Regions from separate parts of the Homo sapiens genome. Here region 1 is linked to region 2. The links are contacts of gene promoters, found by promoter capture Hi-C in human tissues and cell types (Jung and others, 2019). All regions are on one chromosome and are shown on one strand. The core of a region is centred on a gene start or on the middle of the fragment in contact, and the rest is flanking DNA. Distances in the headings are between cores, read along the strand shown. Region 1 holds the start of DUSP28 (dual specificity phosphatase 28). Region 2 holds the start of THAP4 (THAP domain containing 4).

Region 1 (4,462 bases), core at 1,956-4,455, 1.1 Mb before region 2:
GTCAGGGTCGGACCTCCCCGCTGGAGGGTCCCCCGCACCTTGTGGCGAAGACAGCGTAGTTCTTCAGGGACCCCGGCTCCTCGGCAGCAGGGGTCTCGCCGCCCTTCCCCTCTAGCGGGCGTTGGCGGCTGCCAGCCCCAGAGACTTCGTCCTCTAAGCTAAGGGAGGCATGGGCCCCTTCCATGTCTGTGGTCTTCCAACCTGCAAGCGACGTCAGGACCGCACATGTGCCCCCAGGGCTCCCGCCGCGAACTCAGAGGGCGCCCGAGGCCCGGCCCGCGGCCCCTGAGCCTCAGAGAACCCAAGCCCCTCCCTGAACCGCGCCGGAGCCTGGGCCGCCACCCACAGGTCCCGGACCACCATCCCTGGGAGTCCTCAGGGAGACCTGTCGGAACCATGGGTAAACTTCACCCGCGTCCCCAGGTGTCCCTGTCCCTTCGTGGGCGGGAATCACAGCAAGGGCGGTCGCGGCCACGTGGCCAGGCCAGGCCCGCACCCACTATCGCCCAGGAGGCGCCGCTAACAGCGGGTCTCAGCCACGGGCCTCTGAAGCCAGCGCTCGAGGGTGGGCTCGGGAGACGCCGCGCCCACCTAACCCCACGCCCCCAGCCCCTCGGCCCCTCCCTGGGGTGGGGACCGCGAGCCTGGCGCCCCCCCGCACCCGCCGCCCCACGGAGCTCCGGGATCCCCCTAGCCCCGGCTCCCAGCGCTCCTGTCGCGAGACCGCACCAAGCAAGACTCGAAGAGCTCGCGCCGGACAGCAGGGAGACCGACGGGACTGCAGCCACCGCGGACGCCCGCGCTCCCGTCCCGACTGCTTGCCAGCCCTGCGCCTACGGAGAGCGTCGCGTTTCCCTGGAGACAGCCCCGCCCCATGCCCGCTGCCACTCTCCGGCTCCGCCAATCCCCCCGCCAGGACGCACCCGGCCCCGCCTCCGGGCGTGCCCGCCCTCTGTGACTTCAGGGGCTTGGGGCCGACACCCCGCGGGCCTCGGTGCCAGCCTCCCGCTTACCCGGTCAGCCCCTGGGCCGAGTACCCCTGGGAGAGAAAGCGCTAAATTCCCCCAACACTCCCGTGATGGGGGCACAGGGAGCGCCGTGGGACACCTGAGGAAACTGAGGCCCAAGTGTTAATTAACTTGCCCTGATCACCTAGCACGTGGAGCCACGACTTGCTCAAGCCCTGCCTGATTCCAGCCCCGGCCTTTGTTCATTCAGTAAATGTGGAAGGCGCAAGGGTAACTCGAGGCCTGCGGAGGGAACGAGATGAGGGAGGCCGCAAGAGTCACCGCAGAGAAGAGGGATTGGCTGTCTTGGACCCTCCGAGGGCCTCGGGGAAGGACTGCAGGAGAGCGGATTCTTGATGGGGCTTCACAGGATGCGCAGGAGCTCTCCAGGCTACAGAGCGCATTTCAGGAACTGGACTGGGATGTACAGAGGCACCATGGTGGGAAACAGCTGGGCCTTCCTGCAAAGAGGGGAGAGGCTCTTGGAGGTGCAGGGCTTGCGTTTTCTCAACCCAGACTGCCTCTGAGAACAGGGCAGGGGGTGTGAAGAGCTGATGCCCTGGCCCTCCCCACTGGCTAGCTTTCCGGGGACTAAGGACTAAGGCTGGGCCAGGATTCTGGGGTTCTAGGGGCTCTGCCTCCACACGCCAGTGCCTGTCTGTTGAGTTCACTTCTCTCTAAAATCTCATTTTACACCACGACCCAGTACAAACCACTCAGAAAAATGTTTCATTAAAAGTTCGGCATACTACATGCATGCACTCTAATATTTTCATGTAGTCTATTATTTCTCTAAAAACTAAAATGCTGATCATGACCCACAGAATTGATTTCACAACCCACATTAGTTGTGAATTACAACTTGCTAAGGAGTCAGAACCAACATGTAGAAACCCTCTGTTCTTAGCAAGCACATTCTGGTTACACTGTGGGGGACTAGCACCAAGTCCAGGAGACAGAGGCTGGCCCAGACTAAGTGTGGCAATGAGATGCAGAGACACTTAGGATGAATTGGTTCCCAATCCATTACCTCAATGGAGTGGGAGCATGATGGTTCAAGTAGCAGGCTTTGGAGCAGAAAACCCACCTCAACCATCCTCCAACCGTAAAGGGTGATGATGATTCATGAAACAGTCCAGGAGGAGGAGGGACTTCAGGTTTTGTTTGATTCATTTCAGTGGCCCAACAGTGGCATCAAGGACCTTGGCTCTCCCATCTCCTCTGCTTTCACCCAAGGCTGGCTTCCCCTTATGGCCATGAGAGAACAGAGGAGCCTTCCAAAGTGCTCTCTCCTTCATGGGTTATTAGACACCAAGCTCATTCCCAGAGCAGTCACGGGAGTGTGGCCTTCACTTTTGGCCAGAGACAGAGCCAACTCCTAGAAAGCGGAGGGAGACAGTGTCCCAACCTAATCAATGGCTCCCATGAACGCCAGGGAAAAAAAGGGAATTCCACTCCTCCATCCTAGGAAAGTTGGAGTCCTTCCTTAGGGTGGAGGAAGTGGGAAACAGATGCTGATAAGACCTCCACGGAGGTGATGTCTGGAGCTGCAACCAGGGAAGACCTGGCTGCAGACATATTTGAGTCTTTAGCTCAAGAGTGAACCCCAGGCTGCAATAAAGATCTGACAGTTACCAATGCTAGAAGGCTGATGGACAAAGCAATGACGATAACCCAGAGAGAGACTGTATGCAACTGAAACTTCAATTGCTAAATGTCTGTAGGGCTGTTGAGACAGTTGCTTTTCAGTGTATCCATTGCCTGAAAATTACCAGATGTCAGAAAAATTGAAGGAGTCTTAAATGGCAATTTCATGGACATTAAGTGATATTAAATTTTTTAAAGTTACAATGCTGACCCCAATAAATTACTTAGAAACAGCAAAAGGAATAGTGTGGTCTATGAAGAAGTGATGAAAATAGAAATTAGTTTTATTTTATGAGCCATGTGTTATAATACATAGAAAAAAATGCACCAATTACAAAGCGGGCCACAAAAAGGAATAAACGTAAAGCCGACAACGCAGTCACTAGGGAAAGGGTGAAGACACGGGAACCACGCAGCCCGCCGTCCACGTGCACCGGGTAGCCACGGGGCCCTAGCCGAACGACGCGGACGCGAAGTGGGCGGGCCCGGCCAAGCCACGCCTCCGCGCCAGACGCCGCAGTAGAGCGGGCAGGGCGCTGCGCCCAAGAGCCACAGACGCAAGCCCAGTGCCACAGGCCGCGGGGGCGGGGAGGACGGCGCCCGGGGACAGAGAACATGGGACGCAGAGCGGTCCAAGGCCCCGGCGCCCTGGTGAGGCCCAAACCTCCCGCCATGCCCCGGCCCCAACGAGACCCAAGCCCCCTGTCCCGGCCCAGCGCCCGCGGGGGACCCAAGCCCCAGCCTGGTCCACCTCGGAGGCCTCTAGGACCCGGGGGCGCCCGGCGGCCCGCCCGGCTCCCACAAATAGACTCCTGGGCGGGCGCCTGAGCCCCCAAAATAGATCCTCAGGGCCCAAAAGCAGACTCTTCGGCGGGCGCCATGGGACCGGCAGAAGCTGGGCGCCGCGGGGCCGCCTCGCCCGTACCTCCACCGTTGGTGCGCGTCGCGCCCTCACTCTTCCTCGGGAGCGCGCGAGCCGCGGGCGCGGAGGAGCAGCTGGCGCGCGCGGGAGTCACGCTGTGCGTCAACGTCTCCCGCCAGCAGCCCGGCCCGCGCGCGCCCGGCGTGGCAGAGCTGCGCGTGCCCGTGTTCGACGACCCGGCTGAGGACCTGCTGGCGCACCTGGAGCCCACGTGCGCCGCCATGGAGGCCGCGGTGCGCGCCGGCGGCGCCTGCCTAGTCTACTGCAAGAACGGCCGCAGCCGCTCGGCCGCCGTCTGCACCGCGTACCTCATGCGGCACCGCGGCCTCAGCCTGGCGAAGGCCTTCCAGGTGGGCGGGCCTTTAGGGGGGCGGTGTTTCGAGAGGGGCGTGTCTTCCGGGGACGAGTTTTCCGGGCGGGGCCGGCTTCGGGATTGGGACAGGCACTTCCGGGAGGGGCGGGTCTCTCTCGTGAGGGCGGGCTTAGGGAAGCAGAGAGGCACTTCCGGGTTGGGCGGGGCCCACTCTTACAGCTGGGCCCGCCTTGGCCCCTGCTGGCCATTAGCGCGACTTGGGGTTATTCAGTACACTTCTTGTTTGCAGATGGTGAAGAGCGCTCGCCCGGTAGCAGAACCGAACCCGGGCTTCTGGTCTCAGCTCCAGAAGTATGAGGAGGCCCTCCAGGCCCAGTCCTGCCTGCAGGGAGAGCCCCCAGCCTTAGGGTTGGGCCCTGAGGCTTGAAGCTTGAAGGCCTGCTGCCTGGAGGAAGGATGTCCCTGCACTGATACAGAAGGCTGGTCTTTACCCTTCTTCCTCACTGTCATATCGAGTTTTCCTTTGTGTGTGTGTGTGTGAAACATAGTGCTTTTAATTTTATATTTCCGGCT
Region 2 (4,332 bases), core at 1,833-4,332:
GAACCTACAGGACAAATGACAAAAAGTAATTAGAAATAATTAAATGTCTCCCCTTAAAATAATCAACTGTAAAAGCAAAACAAGTATTTTTGCACGCACCCTAAGCCGTATTGACTTCATCCACTTAAAAAAATACTTCAAAAAGATTTAAAGAACATCTTCTACCTGCAGTTATTACTGGAGTAGAAATCTGAAAGACCCGTTGTCTACCCATACAGAGCTTATAGTCTGTAGGGCGGATGGGAAAGAAGGTAACCAACTGCTCCCCAGGCTGTGGTAAATGCCCAATGGGGACACAGGATGCTGACAGACAGTGCCAGGATGGCCTCAGGACAGCAGGAAATAGCTCCTAGAAGCTGACTGCTAACCAACCCTCCCAACTTGCCTGGAAGGTAGGACTCTGGGTACCAAAACCAGGGCCAGCATCCACAGACACTAGGGCGTGAGAGGTCAGGACTGCATGGAGGCAGCCCTGGCTGTGCGCAAGCAGCTGAGAATCTGGAGACCTCCAGAAGACTCCAGAGCTACAGTTCTGTGTTCCTGTTGCATGCCCACCTCCAGGAGTAAAAATGCTCCTTTTAAAAGTCAACCAGCCCAGGGACAGGGCACAATGGTGCTCACCTGCAGTTCCAGTTACTTGGGAGCCTGAGGCTTGAGGGTTCTTTGAGCCCAGAAATTCGAAGTTACAGTGAGCTAAGACTGCACCACTGCTCCCCATCCTGGGGAACAGAGTGAAACCCGGTCTTCTCCCCTCAAAAAAAATCAACCAACTCAGATGATCCTTGAGGACATTATACTGAATGAAATAGGGCAGGTGCAAAAAAACAAACACTGCATGATACCACTCACATGAGGTACTCAGAGTAATCAAATTCATAGAGACAGGAGAATGCGGGTTCCCAGAGCCTAGGGAGAGGAGGACTGGGGTATTAATGTTTAATGAGTCCAGAGATTCCGCTTTACAAAATAAAAATAATTCTGGAGGTGGATGGTAGTGACAGCTGCACAACAACGTGAATGTATTTGTTGCCATGAATTGTACACTGAAAAAGCGGTAGGAAAGGCTGGGAGCCGTGGCTCATGCCTGTGATCCCAGCTACTCTGGAGGCTGAGATGGGAGGACCACTTGGGTCCAGGAGGCTGAGGCTGCAGTGAGCTACGGTCATACCATTGCACTCCAGCCTGGGTGACAGAGTGGGACTCTGTCTCCAAAAAAAGTTAGGATGGTAAATTTCATGTTACATGTATTATACCATAATTTAAAAATGGTGAGAAAAAAGCAACCAGCGCAGGAAGATACTGAATAGGATGTTTAGTCATTTCTTTATTACCTAATAAAGATCCTTCATAACCATTTCTTCATTAAGGCAAACTCTGTGTTTAAGAACATAGGCCTGGGCCGGGCGGGGTGGCTTATGCCTGTAATCCCAGCACTTTGGGAGGCCGAGGCGGGTGGATCACTTGAGGTCAGGACTTTGAGGCCAGAGTTCGAGACCAGCCTGGCCAATATGGTGAAACCCTGTCTCTACTAAAAATACAAAAAAATTAGACAGGCGTGGTGGCGCTTGCCTGTAATCCCAGCTACTTGGGAGGCTGAAGCAGGAGAATAGCTTGAACCCAGGAGCGGGGGTTGCAGTGAGCCGAGATCGCACCAATGCACTCCAGCCTGGGCGACAGAGGGAGACTCCTTCTCAAAAAAAAGAGAAAAAAAGAAAAAAAAACCAGGCCCTAATGTGCACATAAGGGACAGGGTGGTCAGTTCTAACTGCTATTTGCTCCACCTGAGGCCAGTGTGGACCAGGACAAATCCTAACAGGATGGACTGGGCCGTTCTAAGCAACAGGACCTTCTAACCTCCTTTCTGAACACTGTGAGGCCAACTGCAAAGGTACCCCCCCACCCCCAATTCCGATGTCCTTTCCTCCCATACCATGTTAGACCGTTGCAACACGTTGCCTCGTTTTCAAAAAACAATAACAAAACTTCTAGGACACAAGCTCTGAAGGAAATTGTCAAGAAAGTGCGCTGGCTGACTTGTGAAATAATCTAATGTTACTAATTCTTATAATACATTGTAATGATTTAAGACTTACAGCAAACTACTGTGAACTTTCAATAACCCTATAAATAACACGTGCCATTCCCGTCTTTAAAACTTAAATAACACCATGCAACATAAAACAGAAACATCTCCAAAGTGGTTTTTAAAGTCTGTTCGCGGTTCTGGTGCCTCCCGCGTGTAATCCGCAGAAATCTCACTGAAATAGGCTGAACTCACAAGGCCTTAGAGGGGTTTGGGCCCTGCCGCGGGGGCCCACGTGGGAAGCGGCCGAGAGCCCCGGGCCAGGCTCTAAGGGAGCGCAGGAGGATGCCGTCCCCAGCCGGCCGTCCCGTAGACTCTCCGCGCGTACCCGCGTCCTGGGCTCGGGGGCCCAGTCCCGGAAAGCCCTCTCGGGGGCTGTCAGCTACGGAGGCGCAGGTCGCGTCTGCCCGGTCGCTCCTGCTCGCAGACATCCAGGCCGACGGCCCGCGCGGTCCGGAGAGTCAGCAGTCGCGGCCGAGCAGGACAATCGGCCCAGGACCTGCGCTTCCAGAGCGTGCGGCTTCTGAAGCCTAGGCGCCGGCCGGATCGATCGCGCGCAGGGCGGACCCAGGCGGCCGGGGTGGGGGCGGCTGCGCTGCCCGAGGCGCCCGGCCCAGAGACGGCGGCCGGGCCAAGGTCACACAGCGCCCACGCCCGCTCCCCCGCGCCCCGGCCGCCGAGGCCCGGCGCCCCCGCCCCCCGCGTTCGGGCCGGCCGCGGGGCCTCAGTTTCCCCGCAGGGCCGGGTCGGGGCGGGGGCGTGGCGGCCCGGGGCCCGCGTACCTGTGGAAGGAGACGGCGCGCTTCTCGCCCTTTCCCTGCCGGTTGGAGCAGTTCACGGCCGCACAGCAGATCACCATCGCGGGCCTTGGCCCAGCCGCGCAGCCAGGCCCCGGCCCTAGCCGCCCGCCCGCCCGCGGACCGCCCCGAGGGAGGGAGCGCGGCGGCGACACGGCTCGGGACGTGGGCCGGCCCGCGGCGTCCGCGCCGTACGGCAAGATGGAGGCGCAGGCGCCCGCAGCGGGCCCGCCCCCGCCCCAGCCCCCGCCCGCGTCCTCGCCAGCCGCGGGTTCGGGCGTCTTCGGACCAGCGGGGCGCCGCAGGCCCCTCGCAGCGTCCGTCGGCAGGCGGGCAGACGGGCGGGGGAGTCGCCCCGGCGGGGCAAGTCCGTACCGCGACATGGGCGCGCCGAGCACGTCCGTACCGCAAGATGGCTGCTCGGACGGGGACAGAGCTCGCCTCTGCCGCCTCGACAACTGCTCCTGGGTCCTCTAAGAGGAGGAAGCGCCACCCATGGCACACAGTGTCCCGTCGGACAGCAGAACCAGCCGTCGTCCCACGACACGACCCCATGCCGCCCGCAGGGCGCCCCGGGGCTCGCGTCGGCCCGGCCGTACGCCAAAATGGCGGCTCCCGCGTATTTCCGCTCGCGCGCCGTATCGTCTTCGCCGCCTGCGCCGGCACACCTATTGGCCCCCGCGGCGTCCCGTCGCCGCGTCGCGTTGCTGGCCCGTCGGAGCGACGCCGCTCGGGTCAGTCGGCGGCCGGACTGGGAAGATGGACGCAGGTGAGGAGTTGCCGGGGGTCGGTCTTTCCGCAGGAGGTGCTCGCCTTATCATTGGCCTCCCCTGCTCGGGTCGGGCTGCCGCGACTCGCCTCGGGGCACGCCGGTGCGGGCCAGGCTGGGCCGGGGCGGCGGGCGCTGCGGGAGCGCGGGGCGGTGTTGGTGGGTGGTGGGCGGTGGGAGCGGGAGGGGGACGGCGGCGCACTGCGCCGCGGAACCCGCCGTCGGTTGCGCTGGAGCTTCTGCTTTTCCGGTCCCGTCCGGAGCGCTCCGGAGGTTGTGGCTGCACAGGCCCTTGCGCCAGGTCGGCCGTGGAGGGCGGCGGAGCCTGCCGGGCGGGGAGAGGCGCGGCGGCGAACGGGGCGGCCGCGGTCCGGGCCGGGGACGCGAGCGGCGGGCGAAAGCGTAGCCTTTCCGCAGCTGAGCGTGAAGGGATGGAAGCTCTTTAACTTTTATGAAGTTATTGGTAGGTTGGAGGAGAGAAACGTGACGTGTTCATCACAGTATACGTATCTTTTTTGTTTTTGTCTTCAATTTAGTAACCAGTAGATTCTCCAAGCTGCTTTTCCGTGACGAGAAAGAGAAACAGTGAATTTGTATCATCGGGTCTTAGTTTCTTGGGGTCCTAAGAGAGAGAGAAAGAGAAGGAGTGTGTGTGTGTGTGTATAGGGAGTGTTGGTTTTTTT

What was found. The method cuts DNA at HindIII sites, captures the fragments that hold promoters and counts their contacts. A contact is called where the count stands out against the background at its distance.
Region 1: the fragment with the promoter of DUSP28 here is called in contact with the fragment with the promoter of THAP4 in region 2 in 1 of the 25 tissues and cell types used here (H1 embryonic stem cells).

Annotation. Positions count from the first base shown.
Region 1 is chr2:240,557,152-240,561,613 of GRCh38, forward strand. It overlaps DUSP28 (dual specificity phosphatase 28), which reads left to right and starts at 3,206. Exons shown (of 2, transcript NM_001370465.2): 1 at 3,206-3,926; 2 at 4,179-4,462. The coding sequence starts at 3,534. The coding sequence ends at 4,316. ANKMY1 (ankyrin repeat and MYND domain containing 1) reads right to left here and starts at 837. Exons shown (of 18, transcript NM_001282771.3): 1 at 730-837; 2 at 39-201. The coding sequence starts at 184. RefSeq lists silencers at 777-996, 3,055-3,464, 3,645-3,694 and enhancers at 3,791-3,932, 3,965-4,034, 4,065-4,424. The HindIII fragment of the contact is 5,674 bases long and covers 1,035-4,462 here.
Region 2 is chr2:241,634,076-241,638,407 of GRCh38, forward strand. It overlaps THAP4 (THAP domain containing 4), which reads right to left and starts at 3,083. Exons shown (of 6, transcript NM_015963.6): 1 at 2,866-3,083; 2 at 1-4. The coding sequence starts at 2,942. ATG4B (autophagy related 4B cysteine peptidase) reads left to right here and starts at 3,618. Exons shown (of 13, transcript NM_013325.5): 1 at 3,618-3,649. The coding sequence starts at 3,640. RefSeq lists silencers at 2,606-2,745, 2,816-2,885, 2,916-3,265, 3,636-3,685, 3,706-3,895 and 1 more and an enhancer at 3,239-4,166. The HindIII fragment of the contact is 20,762 bases long and covers 1-4,332 here.